Linked DNA regions of Homo sapiens: regions 2, 3 and 4 are each linked to region 1. The links are contacts of gene promoters, found by promoter capture Hi-C in blood cells and fetal thymus (Javierre and others, 2016). All regions are on one chromosome and are shown on one strand. Each heading gives the region's core, a stretch centred on a gene start or on the middle of the fragment in contact. The rest is flanking DNA. Distances are from core to core; before and after follow the strand shown.

What was found. Contacts are between HindIII fragments. The CHiCAGO score rates a contact against its expected background, and 5 or more counts as called.
Region 2: a fragment that was not itself captured here is called in contact with the fragment with the promoter of WDFY3-AS2 in region 1 in 1 of 17 cell types (erythroblasts); the score reaches 5.2 in erythroblasts.
Region 3: a contact is called between a fragment that was not itself captured here and the fragment with the promoter of WDFY3-AS2 in region 1, in 5 of 17 cell types (endothelial precursors, M0 macrophages, M1 macrophages and 2 more). The highest score is 9.9, in endothelial precursors.
Region 4: a fragment that was not itself captured here is called in contact with the fragment with the promoter of WDFY3-AS2 in region 1 in 5 of 17 cell types (endothelial precursors, M2 macrophages, erythroblasts and 2 more); the score reaches 12.0 in endothelial precursors.

Annotation. Positions count from the first base shown.
Region 1 is chr4:84,962,221-84,969,388 of GRCh38, forward strand. It overlaps WDFY3-AS2 (WDFY3 antisense RNA 2), which reads left to right and starts at 3,396. Exons shown (of 4, transcript NR_152775.1): 1 at 3,396-3,638. WDFY3 (WD repeat and FYVE domain containing 3) reads right to left here and starts at 4,470. Exons shown (of 68, transcript NM_014991.6): 1 at 3,989-4,470. The HindIII fragment of the contact is 8,814 bases long and covers 1-7,168 here.
Region 2 is chr4:84,712,954-84,720,121 of GRCh38, forward strand. WDFY3 (WD repeat and FYVE domain containing 3) reads right to left here. Exons shown (of 68, transcript NM_014991.6): 48 at 5,469-5,617; 49 at 3,943-4,063; 50 at 2,345-2,430; 51 at 206-286. Among named protein-coding and RNA genes, the nearest start is that of WDFY3-AS1, 80 kb to the right of the region's middle. The HindIII fragment of the contact is 2,953 bases long and covers 1,682-4,634 here.
Region 3 is chr4:84,734,164-84,741,331 of GRCh38, forward strand. It overlaps WDFY3 (WD repeat and FYVE domain containing 3), which reads right to left. Exons shown (of 68, transcript NM_014991.6): 39 at 6,024-6,253; 40 at 4,847-4,956; 41 at 3,021-3,203; 42 at 2,007-2,164; 43 at 880-957. Among named protein-coding and RNA genes, the nearest start is that of WDFY3-AS1, 59 kb to the right of the region's middle. The HindIII fragment of the contact is 1,758 bases long and covers 372-2,129 here.
Region 4 is chr4:84,767,515-84,774,682 of GRCh38, forward strand. It overlaps WDFY3 (WD repeat and FYVE domain containing 3), which reads right to left. Exons shown (of 68, transcript NM_014991.6): 30 at 5,321-5,415. Among named protein-coding and RNA genes, the nearest start is that of WDFY3-AS1, 26 kb to the right of the region's middle. The HindIII fragment of the contact is 1,258 bases long and covers 4,071-5,328 here.

The DNA.
Region 1 (7,168 bases), core at 2,146-4,645:
AGTGACAGTGTTTACACTACAATGATTAGCGAATGCTATAAATCAGAGATTCTTTTTTTTTTTCTGAAGAGTATGTTGTTAAGACATTTCCCAGCACATCACTGAACAAAATACTGACACATGTAACAACTTAATAAATATCAAGCATTACGCTAAGTGCAAGGGAACACGAAAGGCTACATAATGTATAATTCCATTTATATATGCCAGACGAGATAAAACTTTAAGAGCATCAATTAAATTAACGGTTTTCAGGGGCTGGGAGTGTAGAGGTAGAGGACTGACTCATGACAGGGCATGAGTGAACTTTTTAGAGTAACGGAAACGTCCTTTTCTATGTCTTGACTGTGGTGGAGACTATCCAATTATAGACATTTGTTAAACTTTTACTTTCACTACATGTAAATTATGCTTCAATAAACATTACTCTAAAAAATTAAAGTAGGAGCCATTTCTTTTTTTTTTTTTTTTGAGATGGAGTCTCACTCTGTCACCCAGGTTGGAGTGCGGTGGCGCCATCTCAGCTCACTGCAACCTCCACCTCCCCAGTTCAAGCGATTCTCCTGCCTCAGCCTCCCGAGCATCTGGGACTACAGGTGCACACCACCAGGCCAAGCTAATTTTTGTATTTTTAGTAGACACGGGGATTCACCATATTGGCCAGGCTGGTCTTGAACTCCTGACCTCAGGTGATTCATCTGCCTCGGCCTCCCAAAGTGCTGGGATTACAGGTGTGAGCCACCATGCCCGGTCGCCATTTATTTCTTAATCATTTCATGGATGATAAATACACCACACACACCAAGGGGGAACTGGATTTATCAGTGTAAATATCAGGAAGGCAGATTTTGACTCGACATAAATAGAAATATAGATTTAAAATGTAAAAACAAACAAACAAAAAAACAAAAAAAAAAAAACGGCCTGGCACGGTGGCTCACGCCTGTAATACCAGCATTTTGGGAGACAGAGGCAGGCAGACCACTTGAGCTCAGGAGTTCAAGACTAGCTTGGCCAACAGGGTAAAACCCCGTCTCCACTAAAAATACAAAAATTAGCCAGGCGTGGTGGCGAGGGTCTATAGTCCCAGCTACTTGGGTGGCTGAGGCACGAGAATCTCTCGAAACCCGGGAGGCAGAAGTTGCAGTGAGCCCAGATGATGCCACTGCACTCCAGCCTGGGCAACACAGCAAGACTCCATCTCAAAAGAAAAAAAAAAAAAGGTCAAGAAAAAAAAAAGAAGAGGGGAAATTCGTAATCACAGGAAATACTAAAATCAGAGGTGGATGATCCTGCCAAAGATGCTGTAGAAATGACCCTAGTTCGGGTGTGATTTCAGACTAGCATCATTAACAGAGGTTAGTATCATTAAGATCTCTTCATACTGGGGGTCCAGGGCTCTAAAATCTTATGATATTGTATGCTATGATAATCTCAGATATACTTTGCAATTCTAACTAAAACATCAATTACTTATTTTAACATCAATCAAATGGTATTACCGATCAAAGTCTAGTATACCCTGTTTATGAATGCTGGCTCTAACTTCAGACAGTCTGGGTTCACATGTTGGCCCACCAGTGTTTGTATGACTTTAAAACAACTTGTTCTATTTCCCCATCTGTAAAATGGGATTAATATTTTCCTTCGATTTAAATGAGAATGTGTTAGAAACAACGTCTATGTGCTGAACTCTTAATCACAAACATTTCTTGGGCATAATCAGAAATGAAGGACATAAATCATCAAATGTAATTTAAAAATTTTAGCTTTCCAAATATGGAATATGTATTCTTTAATTTTATATCTAGAAGTTCATAATCTTTTACAGACCCATATCCTTTTGAGAATGTGATCACCCAACAGAGTCTTTATCTAGGAAAAAAGCAAATATATGCTATATTCTGCATATGATTTCTGGGAAGCCAAGGACCCTCAGAAGTATATGCATGAAATTAAGAAAGAAGCAGGGCATGGTGGCTCACATCTGTAATCCCAGCACTTAGAGAGGCTAAGGCAGGAGGATCACTTGAGGCCAGGAGTTCAAGATCAGCCTGAGCAACACAGGGAGACCCTCATCTCTACAAAAAATAGAAAAATTAGACAGGCATGGTGGCATGCACATGTAGTCCTAACTTCTTGGGAGGCTGTGGGAGAAGGATCACTCGGGCCCAGAAGTTCAAGGCTGCAGTGAACCGTGATCGTGCCACTACACCCCAGCCTGGGCAACAGGGCAAGACCCTGTCTCTAAAAAAAGAAATAAATAAATAAATTAAGAACAACTGATGTAAACTTTTAAAATTGCAAAGTTGAGCAGTGGAATTTAAGAATCTCTTCAAAGCAGAGAATCCAACTAATATTGAAATATACTGTCATTTACTTTTTCAAAAACAGATTATGCAAGAGTAGAACATTGTATTTTCTAACTTATCCCTCCTTTTTGGAGGTGATACAAATTTTTTGAAACATTTTTTTTTTTCTTTACAAAAATTGTTTTCTCTTTGTTGCCCAGGCTGGTCTCTAACTCCTGGCCTCAAGTGATCCCCCAGCCTTGGCCTCCCAAAGTGCTGGAATGACAGGCATGACCCACTGTGACCCACCAAAAGCATACATATATTTCAGATGAATCCATTTTAACTCATGGAAAGAAACTAGCAGTAGAAACCTCTTTCTAGCAGCTTGAGATAGAATGGTTCAAAGTATTAACATACTTTACTATTGCTCAAATATCATAGGAAGAGTTCTCAATTCTAATGCAATATATATTTTTAAACATAAAAACATACCAACCTAATTCCTATACTTAAGAGTCTCATGATAAAGTTTTATTTTTTTTAAAGTCGGATTTTTTTACTAGACTTATGCACTAATACAACATGTTTTTCTATAAATTAGCACATTTTTAGTTCTGTTTTATGTTATGTTTGTTACGTCGCCTGATAGTCGAAACCAGTTGTTCTCAACCTGCTACCAAATACCAACCTGGAAATATGCCACTATTTAAAAAGCCCGAAGAATAGGGTTTTGTTTTTCCTTTTTAATTGTTTGGTGTTCAAACTACATAGTAAACCAGTTGGCAACCATTACTGAACAAAAATAGTTTTTCGTATGCATGAGCACCATTTTCCAACAGAAAACACTTAACCATTTTTAAGGTACTGGAAGTCCATGCAAGGGTTCACATATGCAGTAAATATCCTTTCAATCTGGTTGTATCACATTGTTTCTGTGAAAGGAAGACCTGATATTGCAGATCTCACAATTAAATGGTAAAAATCAATGAAAAACTGCACCTGAGGCTCAAACACTAGCCAGATGGCCTTTGGTTGGAAAGGTCTCATCTGCTTCTTAAATCCCGCCGTAACTGTGAATGTTTGCGATGCCACCACATCCCCAGTACAAGAGAACTGGAGCATCTCTGGCTCCTTCCATAATCGAAGGGCTTCCAGCGTAGGGCGTAGGGGGAGAGGCCCGAAGCCCTGGAGACAGCGCCCGAGGGATGGAGGCCGCGCTCGGCTGCGCTCAGGTCCGGGTGGCTCCGGGAGCTGAGACCCCGCAGGATGCAGCGGGGGGGGGCCAGGGCCTGATCCCCTACCCCTGCGAGCCAGGGCCGCCTACGCCCCCACTGCTTCCCACAGGTAACGTCCAGCCCTCTCCTCCCCTATCCCCCGAAATATCCCGGTTCCGCTCCGCTCCGCTCGCCGCCCGTGACCCCGACCCCGACCCGTCCGCGACGGCGCCCTCCCCAGGAGGCAGCGGAGGACTAGGGCCAGGCCGCCCACCCTGGCGGCGGCGGCGGCTCCCGGCCAAGGCGGACCCTGGGGAGGACAGCAGCTGGGCCGCGGCCTGTCCCTAGGGGGAGCGGGCGCAGGGCCGCGAGTGGGCAGCGCCTCCGCCCCGCACGAACAAAGCGGCCAGGCGCGCCGGGCCGAGGCAGCACCGCCTCTCCGGGAGCGCGGGGGGCGGGGAGGATGGCGGGGGTACTCACCTGAGGGCCGGCGGAGGGCGCGGGCGGGACAGGCCCAGGAGACGGGACCGCGGCGGGCCGGGGCTCCGCGCCGAGGGCGCACGGGCTACGGGGAAGGGGCGACCGGCGCGACGTCCGCGGCGGGGCCCGGGAGCCCCGCGCCGCGGGCCGGGGGCCGGGGCCCGAGCTCGATTCTGCGGCCGCGAGGTATGGGAACCGGTCCGCCGGGCCAGGCAGCGGTGCTAGGCAGCAGGGGCAGCGACGCCGCCGCCTTTCCCTTCTCCTGCCCCCGTCCCTGCTCCGCCGCGTCCTCGTCCTCGCTGGGTCCCCGCCGCCGCCGCCTCAGCCTCGGCGCTCCTCGGGTTTCTTCTCTCCATCAAGGCCGGGCCGACCCGCAGGGACCATCCCGGAAAGTGAGGGGTTGTTGCCGTTTCCCGCAGCTGTTGGTGGCCATCTTTAATCCTCCTCCTCCTCCTGCTTTCTCCACCTCCCGCTGGCTGTCTGACTGACTGACTGGATCCTCCTCTTTCCCCTCCTGCTCCTCCTACTGAGCCGGCCGCAGAAATTGCAGCCGCTCAGCTTCTACCCCCTCCTGCCTTTCCTTCCTCTTTCCTTACTTCCTTCCCTTCCCTCGGCTTCCCGCTCTTGCCTCACTCTCAGCGGCTGCCTTCGCCCCTGTCTGCAGACAGCGCCGCTGGATGCTCCCAGCTGGACTTCAACCCCACTCCTCTCAGTCCCTCTCCCCACTGCCTTCCAGACGCGCCTCTTCCCCGCCCCGCGCCCCTCTCTCCTCTCCCACCCCTGCCCCTCTCCGCGGCGCTCACCCTCCTCAGTCCCAGTTTCTGAAAGGACTCAGCTGAGAAAGGACAACTGGGTTCCGCTTTCCTTAACCCTACACCCTTTAGCTGGATGCTGTCAGAGGCGATGGAGAAACGCAAAGGTGCGTTAATTTTACTCTAGCCAGAGTATAAAAGAACTGCCCACGCCAGCTATTGTACTACGCAGCTTCGAAACTCCTGCACGCTCTCCTGTGTGGCTCCCGTCCGTGATGGGACTGTAGTTGAGGAGCTCGGTCTCAAATGGTGCCTTCCGTCAGTGACCTTGAGTCGGTTGCCTAAGATTTTAGATTTTCCTTTTCCTTCCTGGGAGGGGCATTATTTATACCTTTGCAGTCCCACAAACAGTGTTTAGACCAAATAAGTATCCTTTAGTAAACCTAGAACTGCCAAGTGATCATCATTTTGCCCGTTTGTTCCTACTCAACCCAGCAGACAATTTGGGTCACGCTTCAGTTCTGGCAGTAAAGACAAACTGAGTCAGCAGTTAGGAGTGGACTCCCTTAAACAACAGAGTTAGAGTGGGGAAGTGGTCATAACATCGCTGTAATCACAAACTTGTTTTTCCTAACACTGCAATCTACAGAAGTTTCAGGATTTCCTCTAATAAACATAAGGCAAGTTGGATTTGCTGTTTTCTTCTTTTTGACGATTTTGCCTTTAGAGTTGGACCCATTTGTAATGATTTACTCGTCAATTACTCCAAGATAACAAAGTTGGAGGTAACATTGCTAACAAACACAGGTGATATATATGAGCACTTTGTGGGGGGGGGGTGTCACAGTTTTTCTTCTGTGGGGCACTGGCTATTAAAAAAAAAAAACACCTTGCCCTTTCAAAATAAGACTAGTGTGTTCAAAGGTTAGTCCCTTAAACAGACCAAATGTGGGCAGAAATGTTTTTAAATGTAGTTTTAGATTCTACTTCAAAATGAGTAATGTTTTGAAAGTTCAAATATAAGATTTTGTAATTATAACAATTTAAGAGTTTCAAATCTCTTTGAAAAGAATATGCCAAAACAAACCTAAAAATATATTTTAGTAAAAATACCGGTATCCTTTGGTGGGGGGCGGAGCAGAATTCTAATATTTAATCCTCACGAAGTAACCTTAATTAACTGTTAGGTTCAAGATTTCAGTTGCCATCTTTCAATGCCAATAATTTTTCCATTTGAAATCAACAACCTATACTAACATCTACAACTCTTTTAAACCCAAATAAAGTATTTGAGACAGCATTGTACAATACGTTTTGAAATAAATTATTAAAAACAAAGCACCTATGTGGGGGTGTGTGTGTGCATATGCATGTACATGTACTTTTTTTGTTCTTTCCCTTTGGCCTTTTGGTGTTTATTCTTTATTTAGATTTTGTGTTCTTCCAGTCTATTTCTAGGCAAAATACCACAAAATTCTTGACTCTTAAATATTCACTTATAAAACTGTATGTATAATAATTGGAGAAAAAAGAACGTTAGATAACATGAATATACACTGCGAAAATAGGCTGACTTCTTTTAAACATTAAGACCACCATGCATTTTTAAAGGAAGATTTTCAGTTAGAGGTTTCAGGACTCTTGTCATTGTGATTTTATTTACACTGAGGGAGGAAGAGTTACATTTTAAAATACTATAATTATATTTTTCTGTTAAAACATATATTGCAATAAAGTTCACAAATCTATCAGTATGCAAAAGCAGCCGTTTTCATATTAATGTCTTACAAACTCACAAAGGTTTTTCAGTGATAGACATAAAAATAAATGTACCAAGTTTTTTTTTTCTTTTTTACTGAAGCCACATAAACGTAAGTACTGTAATAATGGAAAAATCAGACCCTTCACATTTACTTTTTTACAGCTCTGTCATCATTACAGCCTTTAGTCTTTGTTGCTGGCTAACTGTAGTTTCACTGTCATCTTAGGAATCAAGTACGAAAAAAAAATGATCAAATCAGGTTTTCCTGCAACATGATTATTGTTTCATATGTATTCACTCTCAGATAAAGTCAAGGTCCTCTATAAAACAAAGAATTGTGTTAAAGTGGGATAAACCCTTTGTGCAGAGGCCAGATGGAAAGAGATCTAGGCATGTGCAGCAAACTCCTCTGGGAATAGAGGAGCAAGCATGAAGGGCTATTTCTAAACAGTTCTGCACTGGGAGGCTGATCTCCAACTTACAATTCATGAATAAGGTGACTGTGGAGAATGATAACCAAGAGGCTATCTGTGACAATAAGCAAACAACCCATATTTGCTTTTAACATGATTGAAAATTCTATGAACATGAATGAGTGAAACATAATTTTAAAGGAAGGAAAATGGAGATAAAAGGTTCATGAAAAATATCTAAAAGTAAGAGGAA
Region 2 (7,168 bases), core at 1,908-4,407, 250 kb before region 1:
TAATTGATCAAAATGTGAGCAGTGATTTGACACAGTGCTTATGCATACCTTTTTCTTTTCTTCCTTTAGTTTTCAGTATTTTTTTAAAAAAATTTGCAACCACCAGGGGAAAAACACTCATCTAAAATGTTAAATAATACTGTCCAGATATGAATCATCCCAACTTCACTATTAAACTGTAACATGCAAGGAACAAACCACCTACCCCTGCTCCACACTCGTGTTTGGTCGTTGCCCAGATACAGATTCTGAACTGTCCGTTAGAGATGGCACTACAGCCAAAAACCTGAAAAATTTAAAATAGCGTAAAATTACAAGTGAAGTCTCAGTCAGGATCTAATGGGAAGCCTAAGAAAGGACGATTCGTTTAGATTTTCATAGTTGCGTCTACCCTCCCATAACCCACTAAATGGCAGGCAAAAGGAATATATAAATTTTGGACTTCTCTAAAGAGGAAATAATTTCTTAGCACTGAAAACAATAGCACCTTTAGAAATTAAAAAAATCAGATAAGTAAAAGTGAATCTCAATCACTTTACTTAGCTCTTCCCATATGTGAAAGGAGTTTTGGGTTACCAATCAACATCCACAGGCCCTTTATTTGAAGAACCACCCTCATTTCCCAGGTGCTCACGGGTAATATTACTGTACTGCAATGAGAAGCAATGTTGGATGGTTTAGTTATTCCTCATGGAAATAATCTGAAATATAAAATTTTCTATAATGGAGGGATTGCCAGGATCTGTATCACCCTTCAAAGAACAAGAGAATGCCTCTCATCTACATGGTTAGTTCAGAATAGCCTTATTATTCACACATTCAAAAGAATTATCTTTTAAGTACCAGAGATGTGTGTTGTTTTTCCTTTTTTAAAAAATTTATAGGCTGTGTGTGGTGGCTCACGCCTGTAATCTCAACACTTTGGGAGGCCGAGGCGGGCAGATCATGAGGTCAGGAGATCGAGACCATCCTGGCCAACATGGTGAAACTCCATCTCTACTAAAAATACAAAAATTAGCTGGGTGTGGTGGTGCACCTTGATATCCCAGCTAATTGGGAGGCTGAGGCAGGAAAATTGCTTGAACCTGGGAGGTGGAAGTTGCAGTGAGCCGAGATTGCGCCACTGCACTCCAGCCTGGTGACAGAGCAAGACTTTGTCTAAAAAAAAAAAAAATCATTATTATTTTTTGAAACAGTGCCTTGCTCACTCAGGCTAGAGTGCAGTGGTGTGATCGTGGCTTACTACAACCTTGACCTCCTGGGCTTAAGCAATCCTCCCACCTCAACCTGCCATTACAGGCATGTGCCACCATGCCCGGCTAATTATTTTCTTTTTTATAGAGACAGGGTCTCACTATGTTCCCCAGGCTGGTCTTTAACTCCTAGACCAAAGTGATCCTCCCTCCTTGGCCTCACAAAGTGCTAAGAATATGAGCGTGAGCCATTGCACGGCTTGGCCTGTTTTTCACTTAAAAGGTAAATTTTAAATATAGTTTATTAAAGATAAAAATATGCTTAGATTAGATTAACTGCTTTATTTAGCTATACTACTTTTTCAAGGATGAAGGTATCCAACATCCCTTCCATGGCCAGAGAAAAGTCCCACATGAATTAAATTTACTCAGTCCTTGCATTCAATAGCAAGAAACTGCATTGGCTTCATTTTGGTAAATACAAAGAAAGCTTATTTTGAAACTAAAGTTTTATTTTTGGCCGGGCACGGTGGGTGGCTCACGCCTGTAATCCTAGCACTTTGGGAGGCCGAGGTGGGCAGATCACAAGGTCAAGAGATCGAGACCATCCTGGCTAACACGGTGAAACTCCATCTGTACTAAAAATACAAAAAATAAGCCGGGGATGGTGGCGGGTGCCTGCAGTTCCAGCTACTCGGGAGGCTGAGGCAGGAGAATGGCGTGAACCCGGGAGGCGGAGTTTGCAGTGAGCTGAGATCATGCCACTGTACTCTAGCCTGGGCGACAGAACGAGACTCCGTCTCAAAAAAAAAAAAAAAGAAGAAGAAAAAAAGAAACTAAAGTTTTATTTTTAAAGCTACAGTTTCATCATCCTTTGTATTTAGAGACACAGGACTTAGTGATAAAAGTAGTTTTTGATGATCTCTACTATAAGTTACCAGAAGGAAAAATGGTATGTCACAATAGAATTGCACCATTTTAAAAGTCAGAAGAATAATTGTTTCAAGAGGGTGGCAAAAATAATATAAATTATTTTCTTCAAAGATGTTGGCTCATTGATCTAGATTTTTAAAAACCAGCAAAACTGAGAAAAGATTCCCCCTCCCATATCTTCCCATAATAGTATACAAAGTGTTCCGAATAAACAAGACCTTTGATAGACTTTGTTTCTGATTCCTTTCTGAAAAGCAAGGAGGTAATTCCGTCCATCTCCAGAGAAAACTTCCACAGCAATAGGCTGAAATGATCAGAGAGAAAAACATTAAGAAAAAACAGAAGTTCACAAATAAAATTATATATTAACTTTTCCACTATAAATTTCTACAATGTTCAAGAAGTTAATCTGCGGCCGGGCGCGGTGGCTCATGCCTGTAATCCCAGCACTTTGGGAGGCCAAGGCGGGTGGATCACAAGGTCAGGAGATCGAGACCATCCTGGCTAACACAGTGAAACCCCGTCTCTACTAAAAAATACAAAAAATTAGCCGGCCTTGGTGGCGGGTACCTGTAGTCCCAGCTACTCGGGAGGCTGAGGCAGGAGAATGGCATGATCCCAGGAGGCAGGGCTTGCAGTGAGCCAAGATCGCGCCACTGCACTCCAGCCTGGGCAACAGAGCGAGACTCTGTCTCAGAAAAAAAAAAAAAAAAAAAAAAGAAGTTAATTTGCTAACACTTTTAGAGTCATGAATTCCCTGCAGATTAAGCTACACAATAAATAGATATTTCTTATTCTGCTCAATTTATTTCTAAAGTCTTTAGTAACAGAATAAAAAAAGTAATTATAATTTTATAATTATAATTTTATAAAATTATAGTAAGGATGTAATTTTTATATTAGAAGAAAACTAAAATGTTGATTTGGATAGCTACAGGGAAAGATGGATAACAAAGATAATTACCCAAATTTTAGGCTGTGTTTAAACAAGAGAAATGCATTATACAAAATTATGCATCCACATGACCTGAGTCTGTCTATAACCATATCTAAGGATTATTCTAAATGCAGATCCTGGCCAGCCACGGTGGCTCACGCCTGTAATCCCAGCACTTTGGGAGGCCGAGGCAGGCGGATCACGAGGTCAGGAGATCAAGACCATCCTGGCTAACATGGTGAAACCCCGTCTCTACTAAAAAACAGAAAAAAATTAGCTGGGCGTGGTGGCAGGCGCCTCTAGTCCCAGCTATGCAGGAGGCTGAGGCAGGAGAATGGTGTGAACCAGGGAGGTGGAGCATGCAGTGAGCCTAGATCGTGCCACTGCACTCTAGCCTGGGTGACAGAGCAAGACTCCATCTCAAAAAAAAAAAAAAAAAAATGCAGATCCTATTGAGGGTTTCCATGGCATGTATCAATTTTAAAATAATACATTTTCGGCCGGGCGCGGTGGCTCACGCCTGTAATCCCAGCACTTTGGGAGGCCAAGGCGGGCGGATCATGAGGTCAGGAGATCGAGACCATCCTGGCTGACACAAGGAAACCCCGTCTCTACTAAAAAAATACAAAAAAATTAGCCTGGCGTGGTGGCGGGCGCCTATAGTCCCAGCTACTTGGGAGGCTAAGGCAGGAGAATGGTGTGAACCCGGGAGGCGGAGGTTGCAGTGAGCTGAGATCATGCCACTGCACTCCAGCCTGGGCGACAGAGTGAGACTCTGTCTCAAAAAATAAAAATAAAAAATAAAAAATAAAATAAAATAAAACAATACATTTTCAGAATAAAGAAACATGATAAAACAGTACTACTAAATTGACTCACCTGCAGGAGATATCTCCTTTTATGAACTTCCTTGATATCTTCATATGCAAAAATGCTGCATGTTCTCTTGAGTTGACTAGGGCCTTGCCTGGCTCCTCTAGGAATAATAGGCTCATGCATACTACAGGCAGCCAAGAGAAAAAGCAAATAAAAACACAGCAAGGGATAAATTCACTGTTCCATAAAGGGCGTGCTAATTTTAAACACATGAACAGGATGGAGGAGTAATATATATCAGAATTTTCAGTTAAAAAATATATTTACAAGAAGAATTTGTTAGCTACCTGAGATACAAGGAACCCCCTTTGATGAATATAATTTTAAAAATCCCCTTATTACTGTCAGGACCAAGTTATCTACCAGACATGGTTAGCACAGTGCCTCAGCTCACATATTTTGGGGCCCAAGAAAATGTCTTAATTTCTTTTAAAAATCAGAAAAAAAATCAACTTTTAGGTAGAAAAACACATTTTAATATAAGATTATATTTATACCATTAGCCACAACATACAATTTTAAATATTTTTGTATGGAAAAAGGACCCACGAAAGACTTCATGTGACCCTGATTGTTGTTGACAGTAATTATTTGAAATATCTCCTAGGAATGAACTACAGAAACAATGTCTGTGTTCAAGGGTGCTAGGAAAATGTTAAAGGAAGAGAAGCAGCCTGTTGATCTTCTAAGCCCTAAGCTTCTTAACTTTCTTCTAGGTTGGTCTGTCTCCTGAGTTTTCCACTACTCACTACCACTTTCATCACAGGACTGGTAGAAGAAAAGGAAGATGCCTACAACTCAGTCAGTAAATCTCTGCTAATGCTTTAGTCATGCTGTTTCTAGGGTGCTCCGAGTACCTGATGATGCTCTTTCATTTTTAAGAGTATTCTTCACGCCTGTAATCCCAACACTTTGGGAGGCCGAGGCGGGCGGATCACAAGGTCAGGAGATTGAGACCATCCTGGCTAACATGGTGAAACTCTGTCTCTACTAAAAATACAAAAAATTAGCCTGGCGTGGTGGCGGGCGCCTGTAGTCCCAGCTACTCGGGAGGCTGAGGCAGGAGAATGGCATGAACCCGGGAGGCGGAGCTTGCAGTGAGCCGAGATTGCGCCACTGCCACTCACTGCACTCCAGCCGGGGTGACAGAGTGAGACACTGTCTCAAAAAAAAAAAAAAAAAAAAAAAAAAGAGTATTTTCTCTACAATTGTATATCTGCTATATTTTTTAAAAGGACCATTTATAAATTCAGAATAAATTTGTAAATATATACATTATAATATAAATAACTCAGAATGCACAGAAATAAATGTTATTTAGCTTTCATCTTGATAAATAAGCCAAACATTTTCATTATTACCTTAAAATAACTGAATATCATCTTTGTGAATATGTAATGATGAATGCACACAAACCGAGAGATAACATTACCTAGAACACAATTTTTTGATTAAAAAAGAAAACTGCAAATACATTTTCTGTCTTCTAAAGATAGCCATACATTATGTCTCTTCATTCATTTACTTACTTTGGAGGTAAGGTTTCAATATCTCTTATTTCCCTGGTTGCTGTCATGGTAAATCCATCAATCACATAAAAATGCTCTTTACCAAAAAGAAGGAGCCCCTCACTGGTATCTAGGCCCTGGACTCGAGCACAGCGGTACATGTGTTGGATCTATAAAGAAGCCCACAAACATTCATTAATATAGGCTTTTTGTAAAGATCAATTTTTGTTAGACTACTACGGCATCCCTAGAGCTAAGCATATTAAATCAGAGTTTAAGCATATTGAGAAGATTAAGCTTAGATTACAGTCTGATTTACATCTGACTAGAGTAAAACTAAACAATTCACTCATACCCATCCACTCATCTGCCAATCCCATCTCTCTCAATATTCCGGGTGTACTTTATGTAGGCCAGGCAAACATGCGCTAGCTTCTAAAAGTCAAGAACATTAGATAAGGCTCCTGCTCTCATGAAGGGAGACAGACACAGCAAACTTGGCAGGAAAGGGAATTGAGGCATACATGTAAGGAGATTAGAATAGGATTGTGTTCTATGTGAGGCAAGATGATACAGAGTGAAAATTGCAGGGCCTGCTAACTCAGGGTAAATTTCCAGTTCTGCCACTTTGTAGACTGGGTCAAGTTTCTTAATTTCTCTGAGCCTCCATGTCTTTTTTTGTAAGTTTCTAATTGGCTTGTTGTGAAAAATAAGTGAGATAATGTACATAATCAGGTTAGGAATTATTGGTTGCTTTCTGTTCCACACAGTTTACCTTCTTTTTCCATCATACCCCCTGGAAATGGAACTGTAGAATTTGTTTCTATTCATTCCCCACCTGGATTCTGCTCCCTGGAGACTACTGTACTATTGCAAAAAGCCAAGCTTGGCAGAAGTTGTATTTTCCTCATAGGAAGGAGCATTGCTAAATCTCTCAAAGTAAGTATTGTTTTCTCCCAAAGGGCAGTATCTAATTCTTTCTAAAAACTCTTTCTTGCTTAAACTTAGTTCAACATGAGTCAAGACAAAAATCAGCAATTAAATCAGAGTCAAACACATGTCAGTTTGAATACACTTCCTGCACTATTAAAGCAACCAGAGCAAAAACTGTACTCATGAGATTAAAAGTTTTAAAAATGAAAGCATTGTAATAGGTTTTCTAAAATATCTAAATATAAGTCAATTTTCATTGCTACATTTGATCAATCCTGATGTACTTTAAAAGTTTCTCTATTGCAGTATATTTTATGCATATACATACATACATACATATATTATATATAAACACATACATATACACACACACACAAAATGTTTATTTCCTAAGTGTATGGCTGGATGAATTTTCAAATGCTAAAAATTTTGTGTGACCAGCATCCAGACCAAGAAACAGAATGCTCCCCAGTTCCTAGAAGCCTCTCTTGTGCTTCCTTCATACCTGGTGTACTTTTATAGTTACATGATCTTTTCTAATGTATTGTCATTCAATATTAATTAGGGCATACATTTGAACGGAACTGTTTTGATTATACTCAAATTTCTAGTGACTACTTCTTAGAGGGTAAGAACTCAAAGGTTATACCAAGATCTAATATAATAGGCAAAAGAACATCCTTTAAAAAGGTGATATTCATGACACATTCAAGTCATTCATTCCCTTGTTTATTAAACCAATCATTCCTTCATTCAAAGGTTTACTGGTTGTCTATTATGCAACTGGA
Region 3 (7,168 bases), core at 1-2,500, 230 kb before region 1:
TTTCTTCTGGCCACTGGGATAGATCCAAACCATTTTTTAAATGGAAATTATGACACAGTACAAGTTCTTATCTATCAAATGACAAATATATAACATTTCAACAGTAGACAGTGACAAATAACTTGCCCAATGATTCATGGAATATAAGTATATACAATTTAAATCTAAAAATAAAGATTTCTAAAATATAACTGACAGTAAAGATTACTGAGTGAACAATTAAAAAATTATCTATCACAGTAGTACTGATATGTTCTTTGGTTGGGGAAACTAAGGATCTAGTGTTATATCCGTAAAATATTAGCAGTTAACCATTCAGAAACCTTTAATAGATCCAAAATAGCTAATCTGAGAATAAAATATTTAAGATAAGCTTTTGAGTAATTATGAATTTACCAAGAGAATTTCAATAAATTTATTTTTCACTGACATAATCACCAAGCACTTGTAGTATAGTAAAAAATAATTTCATTCAATCTTGTAATTTTTTACAATTTTAAGAGACTTCTCAGAGACTTGGATGCGTATTTTCACAATCTCCTTGTTAAAAGCCTGAAAAAGAAGGCTCATTCTTACATTTTTATTTTTATTAGGAACAAAGACATGTAACATATCAGTAGTGAATGTCAACAGAATTCAGCTGGGCTCATTTTCAGTTAGTTGCTTTTTGAAATGCAGTTTGTTGACAGAAGATTAAAATTTTCCATCCTAAAATCAGTAGCCAAAGTAGCTGATGGCAGGAATAATTAAAACCATCATCTGATGACGAATGCAGTCCAGCAAGTACCTTAAAATGGGCAGAAAGATACCAGGACAAACAGAGACCTTTCACATACAAAAAATGTAAAACAAACCATTATGATGATTATAAGTCCTTACCTCCTGATATTCTTTATATTGTGTATCTACTAAGTCACGAACAACAGCAATGTGAGTAAACATCCACTGCGAAATCTCCTAACAATGGATGGAAAAAGAGTCTTAATATTTCATGGATTTCTGGAAAAAAATAGTTAATTACCCTTGAAATTAATGCTAAATAATTGGTTAAAATTCTGCCAAAAGCACCAAAACAGAAAACTAAAACAAAAAATTCAGAATGAATTATATGCTTGTGTGATGGACACAGATCTGCATGCTCTCCCACCCCCAAAGCCCCTTCAAGGAAGGGCTTGCTGCCCACGTGTCTGGGCTGCTCTCAACACCCTCAGGGATGGCCTTAGCTGCAGAGGGCCGACGGGGTGCCCCACATCCAACGATCTAGGGGTAAGAAGACTCACACATTTCAGCTTAATGGAGGTCAATTATAAGAGGGTATTCTGTCCTCAAAGCTCCACTTAGCTTGGCTGAGGCTGTCACTAGACCAGCACTGCAGCCTGACTTTTCCCTATGTCCAATCCTGCTTTCTTCTCCCTTCCACAGGTATTGATCCCAAGGGCACCCCCTAATATACATTATGCACACTAAACTCCATCTCAGAGTTTGCTTCCTAGAAAACCTAACCTGATGCATGAGATGGCTGACACATACTATTTCTCTCAGATCCTTTTCATAGCTGCCACTTAGATTCTGGGATGGTGAAGGAAGTAGGATGAGGAAGAAGTTAATGCTGGAGGCAGATGAGCTTTTAAAAAACCATAGGTATACACAACAAGATTGTAAAAATTAAAAAAGGCTTGTTTGGCTATTGCCTTAAAATTTATATAATTATTAGTAATAACATTATTGAAAGCTGGGAAAATTGAGAGAAAATTATCTATAGTCTGATCATACATTAATCTCTAAATCTCATCTTATATCCAGTTATAAAATGGGTATAAGTAAATAGCACTCATATATAGTTTTATCATAAGAAAATGAGAGAAATTCCCATAGTCTGGATTACTTCTATCTCTATTCTAAAGCAAAAATACAGAAAAGTTTCATTTCCAATCAATTGCTTGTACATGTTAAGTATATTATACAAAATACTACAACTAATATCAGCAATGAAACTAAAAAAGTACCTGGGTGGAAAGACTGTGTTTATTAAGACCACTTTCTTTTCGATTCCTTCTTGATCCTGTTAACTTGGAAAGACCAAAGCCACTGCTGACACGGGATAATTTGGACTGTGTGGTGGGCGCTAAAGCTTCTCCTCGACTTATGCATTTCTTTTCATGGGCTATTAAAAAATCAAATTAGATTATTTTATAATTTCTCCATGTATTTATGAGTCTTACTTTAAAAACTTATCTGGTTATAAACTACAACCCTGTAGTTAACAAAAGTAGCACATATTACAGATGCAGATATTACATTCAGATATCACAAATTTATTTATTGGTAATCTTAAGGATGACTGCTCGCAAATTGTATTAGCTGAACTGATAGTTGGTTGAAAGTTCACAGCTCTGTAATAACATGCAAATTTAACTATAACGAGTTTCTATATTAATAATTCATAATCACCTAATTAAAACCTTTGGTGTTGGGTATACTTCGCAACTTAGAAACTATTTGGATTTTTAAAAGGCTATACAGCTTATACACTAGATTATATAATGCCACCAGAGAATCTATGGTAATAAGCTATAATTTAATACGTCAATATTACTGCAACAAAATGTATGAATATTCCCATACCAAGTAGGACAAAGAAAGATAAATTAGGTTCTGTTATAAAGTCAGTTTTGGCACCAAATTAATGAAAAAACAGAGCTTTTTGAATTTCAAAATTATAGTTAAGGGATTGTGGACCTGTAGCCAAGACAGTGACAATACTAGAGCTGTTAGCAATGCATTACATTCTGAATGCATAAACGCCTGATGTATAACATACCTCAGATGCTAAAAAAAAAAAAAAAAAAATCAAAGAGAACTAAGATCTCAGTATAATCATTCTAGAATGGTTGTTATATTGATTTTAAGGATGACTTTATAGAATCCTTTTGTGAATGCTGTAGTCACATATTTAAAGTATACCCATATATGATAGCCACATGTAAATCTCCTGGTGGTATGATCTCTGTAGGCCTTACCCAAATGATTCTGCCAGCACTTCAGGGCAGCTTCTTCAATGAGTGGCCTTGCTGTAGCTATGTCCACGTGGCCCCTTTCATTCACAGGTAGAGTTACTTTGAAAAGTTCCTCTAAGACTTGTTTCTTACTATGTATCAGTTCAGTCCAAACTCTGTTGACAGCTTTTATGAGAAGCTGACGCCCTAGTAAACAAACAAACAAACAAACAAAAAAGTAAGCAAATGATCAAAACACAGTATAAAGTTAGTTTTTATTTTTCTTCATGTTTACATGTGGGAATTTCGACTACAGTATTTAATGTAAAAAAAACAAAGCTCATGTTGTATCTAGCCCAGTGAAAAGGTTATTTAGACAACTGAAACTGTGGTTGCCTATTTAGAAAACATTAAAAAAACTTTATATTCATACAAAAGAACATTTTTATTTATAAAATTGGAAATTATATATATGTAATTAACTAACTTTTTCTAGATTAAAAACTTATCCCCCATTTAAAAGTAATTTTTAAATCTGAATGTTTAAGGTGAGTTCAAAACTAAGTTAGTATTCTTGAATATTTTGCACAAGAAAAGAAATATTTTGAAAAGACTTTTACTATGAAATTCATTCTTGCTTTGGATTCCTTGTTTGTATGCCTGACTCCTCCTCCAGACCAGTCGGCCCTCAGCAATCACCTGAGGGCCTGTGATAACAAGCTGCTAGTCCCTCACCTCAGGGTTTCTGATTCAGTAGGTCAGAGTAGGGCAACAGAATCTGCTTTTCTACCAAGTTCCCAAATGATATTGATGTTGCTATTCTGAGGACCTTGCTATGAGAACCAACGCCACTTCCTCAGGGGGTGAAAATAATAACCGCATCTTTGGTGTTTAGGGTTCAAAACATTTTGGTGAAAGAACAGAGAATAAATTCATGTTTAAATGAAGGAATGAAATTAAAATGAGTGCTGGGCTTCTCAACAATGAAACCATATGTAAAACTATCGCACAGTATTTCTGGGGAGACAAACACCACCAGAGTGATTTCTCTTTATCACTAAACATGTGGAAATAAGAAATCAATCCATACAAAGACTTCAATATGCAATCCTTACAGGATTAGTGGGAAAACCAGATTGAAAAAAAAAAGAGAGGGGCTGGGCATGGTAGCTCACAGCTGTAATCCCAGCACTTTGGGAGGCCAAGGCCGGTGGATCACTTCAGGTCAGGAGGTTGAGACCAGTCTGGCCAACACGGTGAAATCCTGTCTCTACTAAAAATACAAAAAAAAATTAAGCCAGGCGTGGTGATGTGCACCTGTAGTCCCAGCTATTTAGGAGGCTGAGACATGAGAATCACTTGAACCCGAAAGGTAAAGGTTGTAGTGAGCTGAAATAGTGCCACTGCACTCCACTGTGGGCAACTGAGCAAGATTTTGTTTAAAAAAAAAAAAAAAAAGAGAGAGAGTATAAAGAAGAATAAAAAATAGCACTATTGATAACCTGTCTCAAGCAATATTAGCCTACTCTAATGTGATATGCCTGGCATTATCATTGGGCAGTTCTCTTTATAGTTAATTCCAAGGTAGTATTTGTACTTCTACTTAAGCAAATGTAAATATTAATACCACCACCAAATCTCACAGTGTTACTAAGAAATGATGAGCTTAGCAATATTACTGGTTAGTGCTTTACTGTTATTGGCATGAGGAGACTCTTTATGTATAGGTTGCCCTACTGGGAGAGTTGCTATCAATGCTGGCAGTTTCTGAAGCCAATTTGTTGGTTATGTCTTAAAAACTGGAGATAAAACAACCACAATTTAAAAACATCCCAAGTCAAGGCAATTACCTTCACTAATATCTTGGCTGTAACTACCATCTGGTTCAATGTCCGAGGGGATCATAATGTGCCATGTGGTCATGCGGGCTTCTGCTTCCAGTCCAAATCCATCCACGTTGCTGAAAAATTCCAGTCAGTTTAAACTTTATGAAGGAAATGATTAGCTGAAGACTACAGTAACTAAGAATTACTCTATTTCCATTACCAGCAGACACTGAATGTCTACTCAGCAGATGCACAGAACAGAATTCTAGTTTGCCAGGAAGATGCCATTTTTAAGAGGTGATCAAATAAATCCACCTGACTAAATGTAATTAGACTGATCTATAGCATCAAGATTATTACCTTAATATTTAACATGCCTTTTGATTATTGTGAACATTTTTACCTAATAATTACAAAATGTTCATTCAACTAAGAACATTTTTCTAATATGCCTGTGTCCTCTCTCCAGTCTTATATCTCACTACTCTGCTCCTGTAGTGAAGTAGTTGCAGTTCCCCTGAGGTGCCACACTCCTTCTTCCCTCTGGGCATTCATACAGACTGTTCTTTCCTCCAGTAGCAGTTGTCTCCATTCTCTTGTCCTCCCCAACCAGGTCTCAAGCTGCAGCTCAGCAGGTATTTCTTTCAGGTTAGGGGCCCCTCTTATGTGCCTCCAAAGCACTGGGTTGTTCCTAGCAGATCACTCAATACAGCTGACTGGTCTTGCTTAGCTGTTTCCCCTCAAGAAGGCTGCCACAGGGTCTATCATACTCACATTTTGTCCCAGCCCCTAATTCAATGCTTGGCCCCGGCAGACTCTAATGAAATATCTGTCAAAGCAATCAACTGAAAAATACTAATTTTACTCATTTAACATATAACACTGCATTGAGCTTCACTTTTTACTTCTCTTAGATTTCAATGGTATATATTTTATTTGCTTTAAAAGCAAACTTCCTTATATAAGTGACATATGGTGATAATGGAAAATTTTAAAGGTGTAGAAAACTAAGTTAAAGGAAAAAAAAATACCCATTATTTCACTGCAAAAATTCAACACTTGCCCTTTACCTTTTTACATAAAGGTTTAAATAAAACAGAGTAAGGGTAAAAGAAATGTTACTATCAAAAAAAATAAAGAATTTTGTTGGAATAACATCAAAGCCAAATTTAACATGGCAAACTGAACCTAAAGGATTTACCTTCCAACATGTAGATTTATCAAGCAGTGGGCCAGACAGCTAATGAATTCTTGGTCATGGTTCCCAGGTCCCAGGATCAAGTTTCTGTTTACAGTGAGGACCCTGAGTGAATCAAGCAGAGCTACTTGCTGAGGAACGGTTTTGTGTGCCCGTGAGAACTGGTACAAGATGGTCCTATTGAGGCAATGATACACTGCATCCAGTGACAATCCCTGTGATCTTCTCTTTGACTAAAGACATGAAAGGTATGTTTTTAGTATAATAGACAAAAGTAAAACACCTGTTAATCATTCATACATGAACTTTTATTAGGTCTATTATATACCAGATGCCATGCTAAGTATGCAGGTGCTAAGTTAAAAGATACAAAGCTCTTACTATTATGGATTTCAGAACCCATGAGACACATCAATATCATCTAATGAATGATATGAGGGCTACATAAAAAAAAAGAGCTCCCAGGGAGGAGAGCCACTAACGATGCTGTGGGGCAGAGCAGTCTCCCTGAGAACACGAGGATGTGACAGCTAGGGGAGTCTCCTCACAAATATATTTTGTTAGGATAAATGATCTATATTCAAAAGTACTGAAAAAAATTAAGATGTTACTAAAATCATTTTTTTTTGACATTCTAATTTCATCCCCTCATTTGAGAATTTTTCTCTTTGGCTTAAATACAAATATATCCCTTTGAAAAGTCTTAGGTGACATGACAGAGCCTATGTATCTGTGTAGCATATGCTAACAAAACATGTAACAATTATTTCTTACTTTCTACATTAAGTATTAAATAAGATTAATCAATTGTGCCAAACCAGGCCAAACCCTTAATTAAAAGTACTGTGAACATGCACAAAAAATAACAACTTCAAGAGAATATAAACTACAAGGAACTTTGTAAAGATTCAACTGATAAGAGAATATTCTTTTAATATCAACTCTTCATGCTGTGTAAGCCTTTACACATGGATGTAGTATACAGTACAAACCTACCAAACTGTATTACTGTATTAAGGTATTTAAATCTATCTGGGTAGCAAAGAATAATACCTAGGCAACTTTACAAAGGACACATTGGCACCAGGCAATTGGTAATAGGGGAGGGGTTCAAAGTCTGTATCTCTATTCAGTTTTTTTTTTTTTTT
Region 4 (7,168 bases), core at 3,450-5,949, 190 kb before region 1:
GACAAGCCCAAAGCTGGCCTCTTGTGCTAAAAAGTTAGCTAAGTTGTGAATACAAAGAAAAAATTCTTGAAGAAAACTGAAAGTGCTACTCCAGTGAACACGCAATGATAAAAAAAAAAAAAGAAAAGAAACAGCCTTATTGCTGATAGAAAGTTTTACTGGTCTAGATAGAAGACTAAATCATCTACAACATTCCCTTAAGCTAAAACATAATCCTGAGCAAAGCCTGAACTCTCTTCAACTCTATGAAGGCTGAGAGAGCTGAGAAAGCTGCAGAAAAAAAGTTGGGGGCCAGGTGCACTGGCTCGTGACTGTAACAGAACATTAGGGAGGCTGAGGTGGGACAATCTCTTGAGTACAGGAGTTTGAGACCAACCTGGGCAACATAGTTGGACCCTGTCTCTAAAAAAATGAAGAAATGAACTGGGTGTGTTAGCACACACCTATAGTCCCAGCTACTCAGAAGGCTGATGTATGAGGATCGCTGGAGCCCAGGAGGCCGAGGCTGCAGTGAGCCATGATTGTTCCACTGCACTCCAGCATGTGTGACAAAGTGAGACCCTGTCTCAAAAACAAATAGACAAAAAGAAAAAACAAAGAAAAGCTGGAACCAGAAGAGGTTGGTTCATGAGGGTTAAGGAAAGAAGCCATCTCCATAACAAAAGTGAAAGACGAAGCAGCAAGTGCTGATGTAGAAGCTGCAGTAAGTTATACAGAAGATTTAGTAAGATAATTAATGAAAGTGACTACGCTAAACAACGGATTTCTCCAACAGACTTCTCAACAGATTTTTTTCCAACAACTTCCTATTGGAAGAAGATGCCATCTAGGACTTTCATAGCTAGAGGGGAGAAGTTAATGCCTGGCTTTAAAGCTCCAAAGAACAGAGCTGACTCTCTTGTTAGAGGCTAATGCAGCTGGTGACTTTAAGTGGAAGCCAATGCTCATTGATCAACTTGAAAATCCTAGGGCCCTAAGAATAAAGCTCAATCTACTCTGCCTATGCTCGCTAAATGAAATACCAGAGTCTGGATGACAGCACATCTGCTTACAGTACGGTTTACTGAAGATTTTAAGCCCACTGTTCAGACCTACTGCTCAGAAAAAAAGGTTCCTTTCAAGATACTACCAGCTCACTGACAATGCACCTAGCCATCCAAGAGCTCTGATGGAGATGCACAAAAAAATTAATGTTGTTTTCATGCTTGCTAATATATCCATTCTGTAGCCCATGAATCAAGGAGTAATCTTGACTTTGAATTAACTTCAAAGTTTTATTATTTAAGAAATACATTTCTTAAGGCTATAGCTGCCATAGATGGTGATTTATCTGATGGATCTGGCCAAAATAAAGTAAATATTTTGGATAAAATTCACCACTTTAGACGCCATTAAGAATATTCATGATTCATGGGAAGAGGTCAAAATATAAACATTAACAGGAGTTGGAAGAAGTTGATTCCAATTCTTATGGATGACTTTGAGGGGCTCAAGACTTCAGTGGAAGAAGTAACTGCAGATGTGGTAGAAACAGCAAGAGAACTAGAATTAGAAGTGAAGCCTAGAGATGTGACTGAATTACTGCAATCTCATGATACAACTTTAACAGATGAGAAGCTGCTTCTTACAGATGAACAAGAAAGTGGTTTCTTGAGATGGAATCTACTTCTGGTCAAAATGCTTTGAACATTGTTCAAATAACAACAAAGGACTCAGAATATTACATAAACTTAATTGATATAGGAGTGACAGTTTTTGAAAGGATTGACTCCAATTTCCAAAGAAGTTCTACCATAGGTAAAATGCCATCAAACAGTATCGCATGCCACACAGAAAACTTTTGTGAAAGGAAGAGTCCATTGTTATAGCTAACTATATTGTCTTTTTTTGCTTTTATTATTATTATTATTATTTTTTTGAGACGAAGTCTCACTCTGTCGCCCAGGCTGGAGTGCAGTGGCGCGATCTCGGCTCACTGCAAGCTCCGCCTCCTGGGTTAACGCCATTCTCCTGCCTCAGCCTCCCGAGTAGCTGGGACTACAGGTGACTGCCACCATGCCCGGCTAATTTTTTTTGTGTGTATTTTTTTAGTAGAGACGGGGTTTCACCATGTTAGCCAGGATGGTCTCGATCTCCTGACCTCGTGATCCACCCGCCTTGGCCTCCCAAAGTGCTGGGATTACAGGCATGAGCCACCGCGCCCGGCCTGCTTTTATTATTTTTTTAATTGACATATAATTGTATGCATTCATGGGGAACAGTATGATATTTCAATACATGTGTACCATATGTAATGACCAAATCAGAATAATTAGCATGTCCATCACCTGAAACCATTGTTGTCTTATTTTAAGAAATTGCCACAGCCACCTCAACCTTCAGCAACCACCACCCTGGTCAATCAGCAGCCAACAATATCCAGAAAACACCCTCCACCAGAAAAAATTACAATTTGCTGAAGGCTCAGATGATTGTTATCATTTTTTAGCAATAAAAAACTTTTAAACTGAGTTATATACTTTTTTTTTTTTTGAGACGGAGTCTCACTCTGTCACGCAGGCTGGAGTGCAGTGGCGTGATCTCTGCTCACTGCAAGCTCTGCCTCCCAGGTTCAAGCCATTCTCCTGCCTCAGCCTCCTGAGTAGCTGGGACCACAGGCGCCCACCACCACGCCTGGCTAATTTTTTTGTATTTTTAGTAGAGACGGGTTTCACCATGTTAGCCAGGATGGTCTCGAACTCCTGACCTCATGATCCGCCCTCCTCAGCCTCCCAAAGTGCTGGGATTACAGGTGTGAGCCACCGCGCCCGGCCGAGTTATATACATTTTTTAAAAGATACAATGCTACTGCACAGATAGTAGACTACAGTATAGTGTAAACATAACTTTTACAGCACTGGGAAACCAAAAAATTTATGTGACTCACTTTATTGTGATGTTAGCTTCATTTGCAGTGGTGTGGAACTAAACCTGCAATATTTCTGAGGTATTCCTATACTTTCCTTCTTTCTAGAACTAACGCTCAGGCTAAAGTTTCATGGTTATATACTTCTACTTGTTTGGAACAATGTACCTGTAAACTGTCCTTTAAAATGCTAACTTAGTACCTTAATCATTATGGATACTTCAAGCTACCAAGAAGAACCCAAGATCCTCACCTCTTCTAAGAAGACAGAGACTGGTAATTTGAAAATTGCCTTATCAAAAGAATATCACAAAACTTACTCTAAGAGCTACTTCCTTTAAATTTTTCTACAATAAAGTAATAATCTAGACAGAAATTAAAAATTTTATTTAACTTTTATGTCTCCTTTTCTTACTGCCACAGTTTTCATTTTTTAGAACATTATACTCAATAAAGTCTTCAGTGCATATCAAATAAATAATAAATGTCATACACTAACAAGACTAGCAATTTGCTTCTGACTTTATTATTTCAAATGACAATAAGCTGATGAGAGTATCAGTCTAATCAACTTGGCATATCAAAAGAAAAATTTACTAATTTATACATCCCTACTTCAATGTTCTATATGAAAGAAAAATTTACAACACTACTATGGTTACTGAATTCAATGGACAGCAAATAAATATGGAAACCAGATAAATATTTTTCCCACCTTTTTTTGTTTGTTTTTAGAGACAGAGTCTCACTCTTGTCACCCAGGTTGAAGGTCAGTGGCACAATTACAATTCACTACAGCCTCAGCCTCCTCAGGCTCAAGTGATCCTCCCACTGCAGCCTTCTGAGTAGCTGGGTCTATAGGTGCACACCAACACACCTGGTTAATTTTTGTATTTTTTGTAGAGACGGAGCTTTGCCATGTTGCCCAGTCTGGTCTTGAATTCCTGGACTCAAGCAATTTACCTGCTTCAGCCTCCCGAAGTGTTGGGATTACAGGTGTAAGCCACCATGTTCAGCCCACATATTTTTTATACTTGAAATAAATGCATTACATATTTCAGCAATCTTTAAAGCACTTTCACTACCTAATTATAATTAGTCAGCCTATATTAATTTAGAACTTAGAAATAATCTTTGCATTTCGTAGGAAAATGTAGTAGTTAAAAGCTTAGAATGCTTGTTTAGACTACCTGGGTTCCTATATAGTCAATGGTATGATATTGGATAAATTTCTTTTACTTGTATCTTTTTGGGCTGCAGTTTCCTCCCTTGTATAATTGGAATAATAGTACCTATTTCATATGGTTATTACAAAATTATATAGAGCACTTAGTAAGTATTCAATAAGTGTTATTCATTGATCTGATCTTTATACTTCTCATCCACTGCTAATTTGCTTCACCAGAGAAATATCAGCATCATTCTAAATGAATTGGCAGTAGGTAACTGTCAGGGTCCTGAACCTGTCACTAACATACTGTGTGATTTGCAGCAAGTCACTTAGTTTTTCAAATCTCTCCATCTCTCCTTTGAAAATTGTAATCACACCACTTTCTCCTACTCATGAAGCACAGGAGAGGCTGTGCTCGGGAAGGACAGACATCATGGAGAACCCCTTTGGGAGGAAGTGATACTACAACAGTTCTTCTCCACCCTCCAGGTAGATGGGGTTGTATGGACTTAAATAATCTATATGATATGATTTGGGAATAATATAATAGGGTAATAATGTAAATAAGGCTGAACAAATATAAGATTCTGAGAATTTAATTCCAGAGGTCAACCTAAAAAAAGGTCCTTTCAATGCATTCCAAGCAACTCTCCTGTCCTAGCATATACAACAAGAAAAACATATGGGAACAGAGGGAGGATATATATGTACTAAATGAGGAAAGGTTTCCAAAAAAAGTACTTGTCATGGACCCAGGAACTTACAACTTATGAAATTATTTTTATATTATACTTACATAAAGTGATACTATGTTATTTTTCTCAGTGACTACTAAATATTTAACAGGGAAGTGAAAATAATAGTAATACAGATATATGGATATAATTTAGTTTAGCAAGTATCATGTTTCTGAAGAGATATACATACATTTAAAAAATCAAATAATGTTCAAATCACACAGGAAGAGTTTGCTATTTAAAGAAACATTGCTATGAATACTCTAAAAATAGGAAATATTTTATTTTTGAAGTAAAATTCACACCCTATTAAATTTTGTAGGCAATACTGTATAGGCTTAATATAAGACAAATACATCAGAGAAGGGCCAAAAACGTAATGTAAGGAGAAAAGTTATACATATATTATATATAATCACATGTAATTCAGGTCTAATTTGGGCCAGAAGAAAAAAGGCATAATATTTAGTTGACCACTATCTTCTCCAAGCTCCAGAATCAACTTACCAGTGTCAAGCTTCTCTTCATTATTTATTTCCATTACTACAAATTTCTCACAAACCGCAAAGGTTGGCAAAGTAGAAGAAATAAACTGCCCAAATCTTTAAACAAAGGAAAACAAGATTATGGATTTTCTTTTTCCTCTTCCCAAAACAAACAACAAAGTACAAAGAAACAAAATACAAAGAATAAAAACCAAAACAGTACTTTTTTTTTTTTTCATAATCTCATTTCATTTTATTCACTTGCAGAAAGAAATGCATGTTCTGATCATCTGGAGATTTTAGTTTCCTTGTTGCCCACTCAGTCCTTCACAGCATACCACCAGCGAGAAAGATAAGAGTAGTGTGGGGGCATGTCTTTGTACTTCTTATCTTAACTAGCCTTTTAAGGACCATTAGGTGATAATATTTAGTTTGCTTCCTCTTGGACCATCCCAAGTAACATTATATAAAATAATGCTTTTAAAATATGGGGAAAATACAGTTCTTCGAAATATGAATTCTTTAATGCACTAACATGCAAATGGTTTCAAAAACCAAACAACATGATCCATATTCGAATGTCCTAACATTATCTGGATGGATCCACTGTAGCCTAGCAGTTAAGAACTTGGGTTTACATATATGATTAAATTCCTGGAGTAGGGGGAACAGGAGAAGAAAAAACATCCTGACTGTATCACATTCGAATTACGTGACCTGGGGCTTTGTTTCTTCATTTATAAAGTAGGGAAAAAAACAAAAACTTTTACAGGTTTAGGGAATAATTTCAGCAAAGTGACCATTACAATGCTAGGAATTGCTTTAAATATACATTCTTGACATAATGATAATTATAATTAATTCTCCAAAATAATTCTTAAGCTAAAGTTTTAGATCTGCCACCAGATTTTTTGTTTGTTTGTTTGAGACGGAGTTTCACCCTTGTCACCCAGGCTGGAGTGCAGTGGTGCGATCTTGGCTCACTGCAACCTCCGCCTCCCGGGTTCAAGTGATTCTCCTGCCTCAGCCTCCCAAGTAGCTGGGATTACAGGTGCCCACCACCATGCCTGGCTAATTGTTCCTATTTTTAGTAGAGATGGGGTTTCACCATGTTGGGCAGGCTGGTCTTGAACTCCTGACCTCATGATCCGCCTGCCTCAGCCTCCCAAAGTGCTGGGATTATAGGCGTGAGCCACTGCACCCGGCCCCCCAGGTTTAAAAATATGTTTTGAAGGCAAATTAATAAAAAAGTGAGTGACTTACAAACTATACAGATTAGAGGTTAGTCCATGAGAATAACTGAATAAATGGGTGTGATTTCACCTGAGATACTTGGTAGATCACATGAACGAACAGTAGTGACCAAGTCCAGTTTAAGCAATTCTCTACTTGAAAAATATTCAATTGTGTAGTTTGTTTTTCTTGTTTTCCTTCTATAATCCCCAAATTTTCCAAAATGGGGATTATCATGTGAACATAAGAACATTTCTACAGACATGCCTTCAATATGCCTTAAACCGCATTTTGCATTGTCTGCAAAATAATACTTATATCATACAAAAAGTGTGGATATGCAACAGATTTAAAATACCATAATCTGTTTGAATGACAGAGAATAAAAAATAGCGGTGGCACACCCACTATTTAGGAGTGTGTATGCGTGCTTGTGCACATACATTTAAAAATTAGCAGGGCTTGGGAAATAGGATTGGGAACCAAGAATTCCTAGACTGAATACTTTATATCCAGGCCAATTTCATTGGGCTAATTCCTACATCTTTTCTCACCAATATTCTACTATTCACTAGTGGCAACAATTAGCTTTGCTCCATCAAGGCAAGATATTGTCTCATTCATGTTTTCCATGCGT